Regions from separate parts of the Homo sapiens genome. Here region 1 is linked to region 2. The links are contacts of gene promoters, found by promoter capture Hi-C in human tissues and cell types (Jung and others, 2019). All regions are on one chromosome and are shown on one strand. The core of a region is centred on a gene start or on the middle of the fragment in contact, and the rest is flanking DNA. Distances in the headings are between cores, read along the strand shown.

What was found. The method cuts DNA at HindIII sites, captures the fragments that hold promoters and counts their contacts. A contact is called where the count stands out against the background at its distance.
Region 1: a fragment that was not itself captured here is called in contact with the fragment with the promoter of NDRG1 in region 2 in 1 of the 25 tissues and cell types used here (dorsolateral prefrontal cortex).

What each region holds. Positions count from the first base shown.
Region 1 is chr8:134,727,195-134,732,340 of GRCh38, reverse strand. It overlaps a transcript of ZFAT not described here. Among named protein-coding and RNA genes, the nearest start is that of ZFAT, 17 kb to the right of the region's middle. The HindIII fragment of the contact is 3,544 bases long and covers 524-4,067 here.
Region 2 is chr8:133,295,651-133,301,033 of GRCh38, reverse strand. It overlaps NDRG1 (N-myc downstream regulated 1), which reads left to right and starts at 3,782. Exons shown (of 16, transcript NM_006096.4): 1 at 3,782-3,900. RefSeq lists a silencer at 3,452-3,901. The HindIII fragment of the contact is 13,971 bases long and covers 1-5,383 here.

The DNA of each region.
Region 1 (5,146 bases), core at 1,046-3,545, 1.4 Mb before region 2:
CCTTGCTTCTCCCTCTCCCCTCATCCCACTATGCTTGCTTCAGTGAGGAAAGCCACAGTAAAAAACCTGCAGAGCGGGCCTATGTCCCAGCTGTGCCCATGGTCAGGGCTTACCCAGAAGCAGCGGGCACAGCCTCATAAGATTTAGCAGCCCTGGCTGTCAGCAGCAGAAGCCAGTGATAACCGGATAATATTTCATAGTGTGGGGCTCACAGTTTATTTTTATACACATGCAATGCTCATGTAGGAAATGCCATGTTTGCATTTAAAGCCTGTGGAGGAAACCTAAGAGCCTGGGGTCAGGATCAGACAGAGCTGGGCTCAGGTGGCATTGCTGCTCCAGATAAGATGTATGATCCTGGCTAAGTTTGTACCCACTCTGGGCCCCTGTTTTCTCATCTACAAAAATAAGCATAATAATGCCTTCTCTGAGAGTTATTATGAGGAATGACTGTGACAAGTGCATTGCACACTGGAAACACTCATAGGTATGAATTCCCTTTCCTTTCTGGGAGCCAGAGGCCTGAATTTCAGTTCCAGTTTTGCTATTATCTAACTGTTTTATCTGGGACTAGCCGCTGAATCATAGACACACAGGCCAATAACTGCCCTGCCCCTATTTCTTTTTAAACTTGTTATTGAAAACCCTTTTTAAAAAATTGAAAACCTTTTTATATACATTCAGAAAGTACACATACCATAGCTGTGCACCTTAATGAATTTTCAAAAACTGAGCACACTGTGTATTCCATCTGCTTTTGTAAATTAAGGTTTTTTTGAAACACAGCCATGCCCATTTATTTCTGTATATGTCTATGTCTATGGCTGCTTTTGCACTACAATGACAGAACTGAGTGGTTGAGATGTAGGCCATATGGCCTGCAAAGCTGAAAATACTATCTGGCCCTTTACAGAAAAAGTCTCCTGATTTCTGTATAATATTCCATTGTGTGAATATACTAACATTTATTTATACATTTTACTGTCAATGAGCAGTAGATTGGGTAGTTTCTCACTTGGGGCTATTATGAGTAACCTGCTATGAAGTTCTCATATATGTGTTTGGCGAAAAATACATATGTGTTTCTGTTGAGTCCATTCCTAGGAGTGGAATTGTTGGAACACAGGGAAGATGTAAGTTTAACCTTATTAAAAACTGCTAGTTTTCCAAAGTGGTTGCACCATTACCTCTCCCACATGCAGTGTCTGAGGGTTCCCCTTGCTCCATATCCTTCTGACACTTGCTATTGTCTGTGTTTATCATTTCAGACATTTTTTCTGCCCCCGACTTTGATGCTTCTCCTCTCTCTAAGCTATTTCTGTTTGTGCTTGGACACCTCCGGCAATAGAGCATTCATGGCCTCAAGGGGCAACCGTTTCATCTTTGGATACTTCTGATCTCTTAGGAGCTTTTCTTCATATAGTAGCCCTTCAGATGTTCAAAAAATCAGTGCTCATATTCCCACGGAATGCTATCTTCCCCAGGAAAAGAAACCAGAATATTTCTAGCTTCTTTAAAGTTGCTCAAAAGACATGAATTTGCATGCCTTCGTCATCCTGGCTGCTTGATGAATATGTTTAGTTTCTCTGGGCTTCAGGTCCCCCATCTGTAAACTGAGGGAGTTCAATGAAAGGATCTTTAGTCATTTGAACTCCAATAATTTGTGTGAAATGTTGTCATGGGGACCCTTGAAGAGATGTCCGCACACATCTTTAAACAGGGGATCACACCAAAATGCTACTGTTAATGTCTACTGGCCACCTGCTGACAGTAGAGAATGGAGACGTTTATTTATTCATCTTCTCCTCTAACAAATTGTTCCTGAACACGGAGGATGTTCCACGTGCTGCCCTAGGAATCCAGGATGATGGGACTGATAAAGGTCTCTCTTGTGACAAATTCATCTCTGGCAGGAAGGGGGAGTGGGGAAGTGGACTGTGTGCCTGGGCAACTCTGTAGCATCCAAGGGAGGCTGTAACTGTGCCACGTGCACCTTTAAAAGGCGAGAGTCATGGGAGATGTCGAGGTTGATGCAGATAACTGCAAGCTGCAGGGTAGCTGGCTAGCTAGGCAAGGGAGGAGTACGTTGGGCCTTTGCCTTGTCACTGGGGGCATTGGGCCCGGGGCATTGCTCCCTCTGGAGATGAGGAGAGTGCAGGCTTCACCCTCAGTATTCCCAGAACTTCCTTTGTAGCAAGAAATTCCCGGGCCAGACTTCTCTTCTGCTTTCTCCCTGACACAAGTGGGAGCAGCGCGTAACAACCAAAGGCCAGGTCACCAAATCCAGATGGCAGGCAGACAACAGCCTAATCTAACTGACCCAAACACTGTCAAAATGCAAAGACAGGGAGGAGAAAATGAAAATATTGGTCAGGTTTGCAAGAAGCCAGATTCCACTGAATCTAATAGGAGCACAGCTTTGAATATTGCAAAAGAAAAATCCAGTTATTGTGTATTAATTCATGTAAGCGTCAGGACAAGCCCATGGAGTGGATACTCTTAAGTTTTGTTTTACAAACGGGGAAACCAAGACATACAAAGTTTTAGAATATGCCCAGGACCCAAGCTTGTGAGGGTAACCAGCCCATCAGGATTACAAACTCAAGCAGTCAAGCTTCAGAGGCATTGCTTATAAGGACGATGCTATTCAGGTGTAGTAACAGGGAGCTGCATTTGGGAAGAAAGTCCTCAGTGGCAGTCAGAAGCGGGGCCTGACAGCTTGGCCAACTCTGGTGGTAGAATGGTGAGGTGAGGCCGAGGTGGGTGGATCACAAGGTCAGGAGATCGAGACCATCCTGGCTAACACGGTGAAACCCCATCTCTACTAAAAATACAAAAAAAATTAGCTGGGCGTGGTGGCAGGCGCCTGTAGTCCCAGCTACTTGGGAGGCTGAGGCAGGAGAATGGCATGAACCTGGGAGGCAGAGCTTGCAGTGAGCTGAGATCACGCCACTGCACTCCAGCCTGGGTGATAGAGCGAGACTCCGTCTCAAAAACAAAACAAAACAAAAAAAGAATGGCGAGGTGGATGAAATCCCAGGGGCAGCCCAAATCCAGCCATCTCCCAATTTTACAGAGGAGCCTGGGAATGAGGGTCCCAGGGTCACAGAGTTTACTAAAGTAAATTGTAGTGTTAAGAGTGATGTAAAAAATCATCCTGGTCGGGCATGGTGACTCTGCCATTCAGGGGTCATGTCTATAAATTACAGGCCAGCGTTCTTTACAAAGGTATTAGTTAGAGATGAAGCTATTAGTTGGAAAAGATATGCATTCTTTCCTGATAGTATAATTCTCCTAAGAATATTTAAGGATTATTTTAAACTTTTGAATGTGACAATTAGTGTATAGTATATTGCCACAATTTCAAAATTGAAAATAAAAAGTCATATATTTTCTTTCACTTTCCATTAAAAAAAATCCAGAATGAGTAACTGGAAAAAAAGGAATGAACTCTCCAAAGCATCAAAAATTTACTATAAGAGGAGAGAGATATGTTATGTAATGCATAATTTACTTTAAAATGTTTTAGCATAAACATTCTTATATACGTGTGTGCAAACTGATTTTAATATAGACTCTGCAATTTTAACATTTAGAAGCCTTGCTCAGAAATGCAAACTTCAGGAGTGCTGCTATAAGTTATCAAAACTTTTGATTAGATCCTTGGCTAATTTTTCACCAGTAGTAAACATGGTTTAGGATCTGGGGTTGGATGTGCATCTTTGCAGGCACACCTGTCCTGGTGTGGATGGATGCAGGAGCCCGCTGAGCCCAGCATGCTCACACCCTCCAGAGTGGTGCCCTGGACTTGCAGCTGGGGATTTTCCAGCCAGTCCCTCTAAGATTGCTAAGAAGATTAGCTAAACCCTACTGCTGAATTATTGGTGTATCTGCTTCACATGAACCTTTCATGATTTACTAGATAGTCTGAAGGGCACAAAGCAGGGCCTCACAGACTTTTAGGAAAAGCTTGCATGCCTGTTTCTATATCTGCTTGCGTAGAAATATTTTGCACAATTCCATTTGAAGTCTGCCTTCCCTGTACATGCTACCTAGCAGAGATTGCCAGCGGGGTCTTTCAGGCCCTCACCTTCCTCCCTGTGATCATGGAAGGCTGCCAATAGCCACCGAGACCAGTCAGTTGTGAAGAGTCAACTGGCTTAAGCTTGGCCTTAGGAAAAATATTCCATAAAGTTAAAAAATTTAATATTGGAATCTCAAGTTTTTAAAAATAGAATTGCACCACTGGTAGTATATCCAGGTGAGGTATTATAGATTTCAGGTACTCCTCTGCTCATTACTCACATTGTACCTGGTACAGCATGTCTGCTCAGTACCAGGAGACAGGAGCACCCAAAAGTGGCCTGTTTGCTTGGCCCATAGCTAATGCTAAAAGAACAAGAAATGTATTTTTGATAATGATATTTATCATTATGATAAGTAGATTAGGGATTGGCAAACTATAACCTAGGGGGCAAATCTCACTTCCTACTTGGTTCTGTAAATAAACTTTTATTGGCACACAGCCACAGGGTTTTATTTACATTCCCTTTGGCTGCTTTCATGGGGCAGAGTGGAGTAGCTTCAGTAGACACCCTGCGACCTGCAAAACTGAAAATATTTACTATCTGGCCCTTTACAGAAAAAGATTCCCCGCCCCTAACATAGATGGATAGCCTTAGTTTCTCATCTCGTGACTTCTCAAAAAAAAGCCCTATTCATTTTGAAGTCACAAAACTGGCTTGACGTGTAAAATAGGTGGTACTTTAAAAAGCATTATAATTTGCAGTATGTTTTAAAATTTGGTTTTATACTTCAGAGTTTGTAGAAATCCCAAAAGGGCAGTTCCATGAGAGGAGGAGAGACAGGGTCTTCAATGATCAGAGAGAGAGAAAGGCAGATAGAGGAGACAGCGCAGTGACAGGACCCTTTCCTCTGCCTACGAATGAACTTGCCCCACAGCCGTTCTTCTCCTCAAACACAGCAGTGTCCTGACCTCAGGACCTTTGCACCAGCCACTTCCTCCATCTAGATCACTTTTCTCTCAGGTGTCCACCAGCCTGGCTCCTTCTTATCACTCAGGTTTCAGCTCAAATGTCGCCTACTTGCAGAGACCTTTCCTGCTCACCCACTCCAAAGATTCATT
Region 2 (5,383 bases), core at 2,533-5,032:
TAAATTGTGATTGAAAGGTCTGATGGTTTCTCTCACTCGTTTCCTCCATGCACAGAGAGGTGGAGTAATTTGCCCCAGGTACTACAGCTCATAAGTGGTGAAGTTGGAGCTGGGGGCCACAGACCACCGGGTTCTTCTCCATGAATCCCTGCTGCATCTTGGTCTCTCCCAACCCCGAGTACCCATGAGTTTTAAGAAAGACAGTTGGGAACAGGTGATTCCTATGGTCATTTTTGGAACATTTGGTTAGAATATTCTAGTATAAAATCTAAGTTGTTGTTAAGTAGAAATTTCCAGTGGACATTAGTCCAGAAAATCCAATCTCATCCTGTGACGGATTTGCAGCGCGTGTGCATTTACTAAGCAAATCTGATTCTACTGCTGACCAGCGAGAAAGAGGAATAATGTAAACAGTCAGTGCAATTGCACCCACATTCAGCTCCGTGAGCTTCTGCCACCTCAGCTGGCTGCGGTGGGGGATGTGGAGGTGCATGCAGCTCCCAGGTCCCAGTGAGGGGCCTCTGTATAGGGTGGGCGTCCTCTATGCTTTATGTGCATCCAGGCCTGTACTAAAGACAGTCTTTCTCCTGCAGCGTGACACTTAGCTAAGAAAACTACTTCATCTGGTGCTCAGCGGAAGAAAACATCCTTTTCAACAGGGAAGGAAAATTGGCTGTGTTGGGCTGAGGGAGGGGAGTGTGGAATCCAAATGGTGTCTTCCTCAGGCCTTCTCCAAGGTGATGTGGACTCTGATTTTAGAATGCCATCACTTGGAAAATTGTGTTCCATTGCTCAAATTCTTGCCTCCCTTCTCTGCTCTTTTCTCTTCACTCCACTCTCCTTCCTCTGTCTTCTGACCTATTCAATGCTAATGGTCTTCCAGAAGGTTAGGCTTCCCACACAAGCCCAGCCTCCTGCCAGGCAACCTCCTCGGGGTTTCAAGCTGCAAATCTGGGCTGCTCTTCGCATTCTGTCCTGAGGACCTCCTCAAAGAGACAGGCAAGGGCCTCCCCTGGCAAAATGCCCTTCTAATTCCATGCACTAGTTCCATTTGTTACTGAAGAAGTGGGCCGCCTTCCCTGCGCCTTTGAACTTGACATTCCTTATCTTGACACTCCGCACTTTTGAACTTGACACTCTTGTATCTTTAGCAGGTAAAAAACCAAAGGTGCTCACTCAATAAATCGCCGCAATGGGGAGCCTATGGGAAAATGGGTATGTGTAAGCTGGCTAAAGGATAACAGGCACACAGGCTGCTTGATCTGGGAGGGTCTTTAGACAGCAGGATGGCTCCCAGAGATGCACTTTTGTTGTTGCTGTTGTTCATGATCATGTCCCCAGGGTCTAGAATGGTGCCTGGGCATAGTAGGTCCTTAATATAGTTAGGGAATGAATGAGTTCATCTCAACCACGCTGTATGGATGGAGAAACTGCGTCTTGGGGCTGTACCATGCTATGCACCTGTAGAAAATGTTTTTGCCTTTTCAGTCCTTTCCCAGTGGCGGAGTACAGGACCCAGCTCATAAGAGCAGCTCAATTCTGTCATTTGTGGAATGACAGAATAAATAAGTTTCAGGGCCTAGGGAGGCAAGGCTCCTGCCTTAGCCTCCCAAGTAGCTGGAACTACAGCTGCATGCCACTAAGCCCACCTGATTTTTTATTTTCTTGTAGAGATGATGTCTCATTATGTTGCTCAGACTTTTCTGGAACTCCTGGGCTCAAGCAATCCTCCCACCTCTGCCTCTGAAGTAGCTGGGACTACAGGTACTTGCCACCAGGCCTGGCTAGCTTTCATCTTTTTTGTAGAGATGGGACATCACTATGTTGTGAAGGCTGGTCTCAAACTCCTGGACTCAAGAGAGGCTTCTGCATTGGCCTCCCAAAGTGCTGGGATTACAGGTGTAAGCCACTCTACCTGGACACAACATTTTATTTGAAATAAGAAAAATTTTCCCTCACTGGGAATGCTGCAGTTGAACTAGTTCAAATCCATAAAGAATGGAAGACTGCCCAGTGGTCATTCATTCACTTATTAATTCTAGATGTTAAATTTTCTAGGGTGGGGGAATGTGCTCCTACATTCAAGGCATTCTTGAATGTAGCCAAACTTTGTAGTTTAGCCAAACTTCATAGCTAATAGCCAAACTTTGTAGTTTAGCCAAACTCTTCTAGCAGCAAAACCCATGACACTGGAACTCTGTTCTTCACACTGGTCATTTGTAATAGAATAACAGAGCTTTAGCACTAGATAGGTTCTGAAAGATCATTGAATCTAATCCTCTCCCTTTGCCAGTGAGAATTCTGAAGCCCAGATTTGTTGATTTGTGATCGATAGTGTCAAAGACAGGCCTGAAACACAGATGTCCTGGGTCCTAGAGGTGCTGTTTGCCCCTCTCCATATTTCTTTTGTTCCAGAAAACCCTTCTCCAAAACTGGCCCTAATAATCAGAGGGGAAAGCCATGGCCCCTGCCTTGGGGACAGCATGGGTTGGCACAGAAAAGAGGTTTACAATTCAGCAGGAAGTGTTGTGCGTGCGCGCGTGTGTGTCTGTGGAGGCGCAGGGAGGGTCACCTGAGCTTGCCCTGGGTCTGGTCCTGGGCTCAGTGGCAAATTCAACGCTGGGCAGGTGGCCTGAGGACAATGACGGTGCCAGCTGTGAGTCAGACTTCCTTTATTCATAAAATCATGTTCCTCCATGCAGTGCTTCTCAACCTGGCTGCACGTCAGGAGCCACCTGGGTAGCTTTGTAAAAACCCCAATGCCCAGTTGGTTTGCACCCCCTGAGATTCTGATTAAACTGTTCTGGAGTCCATCTCTCTCTTTTTATTATCTATCTATTTATTTATTTTTTAATTTGGCGGCTCCTCTGGGACTTCTCATATGCAGTAGGGGTTGAGAATTGCTGGTTTCTTTGGCCAGATGGGAACATGCAGGCCAATAGTTACGCACAAACAGAGCAGCAGAGCAGGACGGTGCTAAGGTTGGAAAGGGTGAGTCATGAAAGTTCAGGAAATCAGAATAGGAAGGGGTGAGAATCCTCTCATCTGGGCTTGTGGGGCAGGAGAGAAGAGCCCAGTGGGCAAGGTCCAGTGAGTGTGCTTAGAACTGGGAAGATGAGGGGAAGGGTAAGCGCTGGGCGGCGGTGGGCAAGATGGACGAGATTAAACGGGAGCGAGGATTTCAGCGAGAGCTTTGGCGACACGGAAGGCTGAGAATCGGAGGGAGCCTGTCGGGCGAAAGCGAAGGCGGCTGCTGGGCAGGCAGCCGAATCCGGCTGGAGAGCCGAGCTGGTGAGACCTACAGGAAGTGAAGGGAGTCGCTCAGGGCGTGGCGCAACGAGACTCTTAGAAGAAACTCTGAGGCAGAGATGGGGGGCCTCCGCCCATACGGAGACACAAGGAAGTCCACATGCACACGCACGAGCGCGCACATGAACACGCACAAGCACACAAACGCCTCCTCCGGGCAGGGCACACGCGCCCGCTGCACAGGCCGAGGCCCTGGACTCGGAGGGGACTGCAGAGCCGACCCACAACCCGGGCCCCGATGCCCCTCCCGGCCGCGCCCCTACGACTGCTTGCGCAACAGGCGGCGGCTCCAGTGGGCGCCCGCCGCGCGCTGCCGGAGCCCAGCCCAGCCCGGCGCGCCCGGGAGGAGGGAGCAGGGAGCGGGGAAGGGGTGTGTCCCGGCTGCGTGCTGGGACTGCGAGGGTCTGGGAGGGGCGAGGCGCGGGGGCGGGGCCGCGGCGCCTATAAAGTCGCCCTCCGCCCGGACGTAAACAAACCTCGCCTGGCTCCCAGCTGGTGCTGAAGCTCGTCAGTTCACCATCCGCCCTCGGCTTCCGCGGGGCGCTGGGCCGCCAGCCTCGGCACCGTCCTTTCCTTTCTCCCTCGCGTTAGGTAAGCCCGCGCCCTCTTCTCCCAGGCGCGACGCGGAGCAGAAAGGGGCCGCCCGTGCGGTGCCGCTGGAGCGCCAGGACCGCCCTTTGTAGCCCCGCGTACTCCAGGAGTAAGCGCCCCGGAGCTGCAAGTGCGCGGTCACCCCGGGGCGCGGGCGCGAGGGGGCTTTGGGTGCAGACACCGCTGAAGTGGGGGGTTCAATTACGGAAAGGGAGGAAAAAAAGACAGGGTCCCATTCATCTCCCCCCTAGCTGGGGATTGGGGTTCTGGAGGTCGGGAAGGGGGCGATGAGACGGTCCGAAAAAATACCAGGATAGCGTTTCCTGGCGTCGTCTCCGAATCCCAGCTGGCGCCGCTGGCAGGGGTGCGCGCTGGACGTGGGTGCAGAAGGGACTAGGTGAGTGTGTGTGTGTGTGTGTGTGTGTGTGTGTGTGTGTGTCTGTGTCTGGGAACGGAGAGATTGCGCGCGAGTGTGTAGATGAGGGGTTGGTAGAGGTGAGTGGCGCTGGCAAGGAGGCTGGAGAGGGGGGCGTGGGTGTGTCTGGCTTGCAGACTGGGTCGGGAACGGGTGTGGATCCGAGAGGCTGGTGGCGCTTCAGTCCCGTAGCACACACAGGGCGGTGTGCATGTGTGAGTGTAAGCGTGTGTGTGGGGGGAGGGTCCAGGGTGTGTCACAGTGCAACACGCGAGCCGGAGCAAGTGTCTGCGAGCGCCACTGGGCAGGGTGCGCCCCCGGAGGAACCCGGGATTGGCGCATCGGCGGCGTGGGAGAAGTGACCTGGGCGAGAGGGGTCTCGCGGACATTTGGCGGCCCCTTGAGCTGGCTGGAGCTAGGAGTGGCGTCATTTTCGCCTCCGCCCACCCTCCCCCGCTTTCCTCCCCTCCCCTGCCTCTGGTGCTGGCCGCTCCTGCCCTCCACGGGGGAAAACAGCTGGAATTACTTCGACGTTCCTGGGGGATCCGCCGCGGTCTCTGATTCAGCCTCGGGAGGAGATTTCGGGCTGGGCTTGGGGAATGCGGCTGGTTCTGGGGGAAACACGCTGTCACGCCTCTGTCAAATTAGTAGCTGGAGCTGGGATTTAGTGGGTCGGTTCCTTACCCACCCCTCCCCCATATCCCCCGCCTGTTGTCCCTGCTGTCCCTGGGGGTCCTGAACAGCACGCCTCTGTGGCTTGGAAGTGGGAGATGCCTGGCAGTGGGTGGGGGAGGCAGGGCCCTTGGTTATCTTATGCCCATCCAAGAACACCCCTTCCTCACGGACGCTGGGGGCACTTCAGTTTGTTTGGTTTCTTTAAGCTACTGGGAAATATCTAATATTCAGAAGTCAGCCAGTGGCCAGGCAGGAGGGCGGTAGACATCCTTATAATACCCATCAGCTGCACGGGACCTTCTCCTAAGCTGCCTCAAAAGAACATATCTAAATACAAACCCCCTGTTCTTGCTGCAGAAATGTAGTTTCAAGGCGAATTTTTCAGTCTAGACT